2 separate regions of the Homo sapiens genome follow, and region 1 is linked to region 2. Evidence: promoter capture Hi-C in 16 types of primary human blood cells and fetal thymus (Javierre and others, 2016). All regions are on one chromosome and are shown on one strand. Each heading gives the region's core, a stretch centred on a gene start or on the middle of the fragment in contact. The rest is flanking DNA. Distances are from core to core; before and after follow the strand shown. Region 1 overlaps LDHB (lactate dehydrogenase B). Region 2 holds the start of SPX (spexin hormone).

The links. Contacts are between HindIII fragments. The CHiCAGO score rates a contact against its expected background, and 5 or more counts as called.
Region 1: a fragment that was not itself captured here is called in contact with the fragment with the promoter of SPX in region 2 in 1 of 17 cell types (megakaryocytes); the score reaches 5.5 in megakaryocytes.

Annotation. Positions count from the first base shown.
Region 1 is chr12:21,645,818-21,648,517 of GRCh38, reverse strand. It overlaps LDHB (lactate dehydrogenase B), which reads left to right. Exons shown (of 8, transcript NM_002300.8): 3 at 1,502-1,619. Among named protein-coding and RNA genes, the nearest start is that of LDHB, 11 kb to the left of the region's middle. The HindIII fragment of the contact is 475 bases long and covers 1,074-1,548 here.
Region 2 is chr12:21,524,862-21,527,561 of GRCh38, reverse strand. It overlaps SPX (spexin hormone), which reads right to left and starts at 1,266. Exons shown (of 6, transcript NM_030572.4): 1 at 1,084-1,266; 2 at 596-676; 3 at 370-427. The coding sequence starts at 1,089. The HindIII fragment of the contact is 15,623 bases long and covers 1-2,700 here.

The DNA.
Region 1 (2,700 bases), core at 62-2,561, 120 kb before region 2:
TGTAGCTGATCACACTACTATTCTTAGAAGAGGTTGACCCTTGAACAACATGGGCTGGTTCACTTACAGGCAGATTTTTTTTTTCAACCAAAAGTATATTGAAAATACAGTATTCAGGGGATGCGAAACCCACATATATGGAGAGTCTTTTGCATCCGGTGAATACTGTCCTTTCTGTATACTTGATTATGCCCAGATTTTGGTACACTCAGAGGTCCTAGAACCAATCCCTTGAGTATCGTATATTGAGGAATGACTGTATTGGCATTTTTAACTGGGCCCCAGTATTGATGTATTCTACTTAGCTGATATTTTTGCTAACAGCCATAAAAACAGTAAGAGCAAGGACTCTGGTGATGTTTCAATAGGAGGGATAACCACTTTATAAACAGTTTATAAATTATGACTTCCATAAGATAATGGAATTTCATAGCTGAAAGGTTGCTTAGATGCATGTAGACCAACCACCTTTTTTTTTTCCTTTCTTTCACTTTTATGTAGATATTGAGAAAATTTAAAAAATTATGATTCCAGGCCCAGCACTGCCTATTCCAGCATTTTGGGAGGCCGGGGCGGGTGGATCAACTGAGGTCAGGATTTCGATACCAGCCTTGGCAACATGGCAAAACCCCATCTCTACTAAAAATACAAAAATTAGCTGGGTGTGGTGGCACGTACCTGTAATCCCAGCTACTCAGGAGGCTGAGGCTGGAAAATCACTTGAACCCGGGAGGTGGAGATTGCAGTGGGCGGAGGCTGCAGTGAGCCGAGATTGCACCACTACACTCCAGCCTCGGCAACGGAGCGAGACTCCGTCTCAAAAAAAAATATGACTCCAGATCAAGATTAAATAGTATATTCATTACTTTAGATTGTATTTTGAATGGGGGACAGAGAATGACAATTGGAATAGAAAACAAAAGAAATCTGAGACTGGGCAAGTCTCAGGCACAGATTTGGAGTGATCACATGAAAAAACCTCCCAATCCTAGATTCCTCTGTCCATAAAACTCATCTTCCTTTCCCCACCAAGACATTTGAGTGGATCAGAGCCACCCTGAAGATTCCAAGCTTCAACCTGGGTTTCAAATCCTACTCTAAAGTAAACTCACACTCCTGGTGATTTAAGCCAAATCTACCATCTCAGAAAGCCTCCAAATTGGGGTGACCTCAAGGATGGACACATTGCCCAAGGTTGTTTCTGGGCCTGAGTGTATTTTTGTTTTCACCATTCCCTCTCCATTAATATAGACTTGTATTCACTAGGCCTACTCTTGAACTAAGCTGGTTTCCTAATGAATCTTTAAGTCTACATGTTCTTAAAGTATAGTTTGTATCATGTGAACTGAATCCTCATTGAGTATCTAACTCCATGGTAAAATTCTCAAGATGTTTAGATCTTTGGTGCTTAGCCATGTTAAAGATCTTTCTTTGGGTTAGATTGTGAGCTGACGCATCCTAGAGTGGCTTAGGGTTCTAATGCCTGTTTTTGCGTTTACAGTCTCTGGCTGATGAACTTGCTCTTGTGGATGTTTTGGAAGATAAGCTTAAAGGAGAAATGATGGATCTGCAGCATGGGAGCTTATTTCTTCAGACACCTAAAATTGTGGCAGATAAAGGTAATTTCACTTAATGCCCAAAGTGATCTAATATTTTTTTCATGGCCCCAAAACACATTTGGAATGCATCTTACAGCATAATAGATTTATTTGTAAGTAGGAAAGGTTGAAGTTTTGGAACAGTTATTTCAATAACTGTTAATAAGATATTTATAATGTAGTTTAGCAAATTCAGATTATTGCAAAATTGTTATATAATTATAAAATGTTTCCCTCTTTTTCCTCATTTTATAAAAAGCTCTTACTTCTCTACTGTATTCTACTTTTTATTTCTCAAATATTTTATATTCACTTATTAATGGACAGCTACCTAAAATGAGTTTGCTAGCCGTAAGTGATCACTGATATGTCACTAACAGGAAATAACAAATTGGATTTATCGCATTGTTTGGCTTATTTTACCACGTTTCTTCTATAGGCCAATTTTCTTTCATCCGTTTCTAGAAACTCATTGCTACTGCTAAAATGTACACATAGCAAATTGACATTTTCCCATTGGAAGTGTATGTAGAAAATGGTTATGTATTCCACACTCCACACTGCCACACTAGTTATCTTTATCCTAAAACAGATGCTTTCCCTAAAATGAAAGTTTGAATGCATTCTTTTCTTTAAAGATTTCTTATCTTTTTATAAACCTTTGTCTGTATTCTAAAACCTCTGGCAGGGCCTGCACAGCTCTCAATTTAGATATAACCTGCATTTCCTCATGGCTCATCATTCTCCTCTCCTCCCTCAGTCTGTTATAAAATTAGTCTTCCCATCCTGGTGAATCTGGTGTTGGCAGTTTCTTTTCATCTGGGTCCAGTTTATCCTTAAGGTTAAACTCAAGTATCACTTACATTAACCCTCTCCCACAGACCTTCTACACATTTGATATGTAACATTTTGGGCTATTGTATTATAATGCCTTGTTTATATGTATCTGAGAACTAGCATGTTTTAGACCCCAAAAGTATTGGTACAATGAAGGGGTGGCCTGCCTCTCCACCCTTGTGGGCATTTCTCGTCGGGTGGAACGAGAGACTGGAGAAAAGAGACACGGAGACAAAGTATAGAGAAAGAAAAAGTGGGCCGAGGG
Region 2 (2,700 bases), core at 17-2,516:
CCCCGGGCTGAGCCAGGGGCCCTGGAGCTCTGGAGGAAAGCCCCGCGCCTGACCGGACGCCGCAAGGGCGCTTTGGAGCGGAGGTCGGGTTACTGAGATATTTCCCAGGCAACCCGAGTCCCCATTTGGACCAAGAGAAGCAACCCTCCAGTTTTGGATGGAGAATTTCTAATAAGGATGGAGGATTTCCAATAATCAGGGACTCTTCCCCTCTCCCACCCCTCCCTCACCTACCGGTCTCTTTGATGGCCTCGATGATTTAAGGGAATAAACTCGACATTATTCTCTCTCCATAACTCTCCATCTATCTGTTCCTGACTCCTAGGGGTCTTCCATTATTGTAGGAAGAGCGAAATATTTGGAACTTACGTGCCCCTTTCAGGTAGAGCATAGCTTGAGGAGTCCAGTTCCTTCTCTCCAACAGTCTCTATAGCCCGGGGGAAGGGAAGAGCAGTTAATAAAACATTGCAGCTCAGTCCTCTATTACAGCAAAATAAAGGAAAAAGAAGAGAATAAAACAAGAAGGAAGAAAGAAAGAGCAGAGTGGACACACAGTGCGCATTGTTTTAAAATTTTTTATTTTGCATTTGATTACCTGCGGAGCGCAGCTGGAGTTTCCCAGGAAAACAAACACCAGGAAAAGAGCCAAGGTTGTTGCTGCCAGACTTCTGAGTCCCTATATGAAGCGATCAACCAGAAAGGGTCATTTCTGTGCCAATAGGATCTTCTGCTTCCTTCCTTGACGCCTGGACAATTATAAACCCCCTTACTTCTCGCAATATTCTGTTTTAATACTCAGTTTTCTGGAGGTGTTTCCCTTCTACCTTCTAGTTAATTCACAAAGAGTCCACTTGAAAAAACGTATTTAGAAACATATTATTTGTATTACTTCACCCAAATGAAGAATAAGTAAATACGTGAATTTTTTTCTTAGTAAAATCAAATGATTCTGTTATTCTAAAGGCGTATCGTTCAAATATCCTTTAAACTCTAAAATCCTTATTAAACATGAAATAGGTAAAATGCTATAAAACGTTTTAAAAAATAGCTAAGAAGTCTCAAGTTAATAAAGCCTTTACTTACCTTCATGTTCTGCGTCTTTTCAGAACCCTGAAATAACTATAACTTTATCTGTGAGTTTTCGACTCTTGCTCTGAAATTGGAGCTTTTAAAATCTTGGTGTTAAGGGCACCTCCCCATCTGGAGTAGAGTTTGGGAGTCCACAGGGACATCTTGTCAGTCTTCAAGCAAGATTGAGAATCTGATGACTCCTCCAGGGAGCTTCATTGCAGGAAGTAGAGGAATGATTGATGGGCAGAAATTATTTGTTTAAATACTGATTGCATCACCCAGGAGGCCTTCAGAATGTGTCAGCATCATTGGCCTTGCTTTTCCTACTAGCTGCCCAAAGTAACATGTTATTATTATTATTAATGAAAACAATCAATAGTCCAAGGCAGAATCAAAAGTAAAAGAATAAATCAGAAAACTTTTCTTGGGTAACTAGCCATCAGTCTATCACTGATGGCTAAAGATGTATGAAAAGGTTTGGGAATCTCAATGGAATTTGACATCAGTCATTCACTTAATTATCAATTCATTCTGTTGTTTAGCAAATATTTATTGAGTGCCTATGAGACACACAATCCTTGTATTTCAAGGGACACAGCCATGCACTGAAAAGACATGGTCTCTGCTTTGATCTAAGTTACCTACTAGTTAAGGTACACAGTAAACTGATGAATAGATAAATAAGACACAGTAGTTACCCCTTAATCGTAGGTGTGTGTGGGGTGGAGGAGCATGTTTCAAGACCCACAGTGGATGCCTGAAACCACTGATACGTATATGCCTTATTATACTATTTTTTTTTATCTGTTCACCAAGATGGTTACTAACTGATTAATGGGAGAGTGGTGTTTACATATGGACATGCTGGACAAAAAGATGGTTCATGTCTTGGGTGGGCTGGAGCTGGACAGTGAGAGATTTCAACACCCTACTCAGATTTAAAGCTCACAATTTAAACTTATTAATTCTGGAATTTCCCATTTAATATTTTCAGACTGTAGTTGACCATGGGTAACTGAAACCATGGAAAGTGAAACCGTGGATAAGCAGGGACTACTGTAACTACAGAATGTTTTAAATTGTTAAGTAAAAGTAAGCAAGGTGATGTGATAGGATAAGTGGTGGGCTACTTTAGGGAAGGTTAAAAACAGAGGGTAGTCTTGAAGGATAAGGTGAAGTAATGGGAGAAGCTGGGCAGGAATTAGTATTCCAGGCATTCTCAATAGAAGAAAGAAAAGCAAAATCTGTGGACAGCAAAGAGCATGACTTGCTTGGGGACTAGGAAAGAGGCCAATGGAGGCAGCGTTGTGTGGGTGAACGGGGGAGGTGCTTTGAAATGAGATTGGAGAAGAAGAAATGGGCCAGTTGATGTGGAAATACGATTATAAGCAATAGATGATGATGGCTTACACTGGGATGGTACACACAGGGAAAGAAGAGCTGTAAATGAATTTGGAATACATGTTGTGGAGGTAGAAAATATAGAACTTGTATATAAAAGGGATATGAAAGTGTGAGAAAAATAAATCAAGGATGATTCTTAGGTTTATGGATAAAACTGTGGGTAAATTATGAAGTAATTTACTGAAATTAGAGAAACTTCTTAAGAAGCAAGTTATGAGAGGGAAA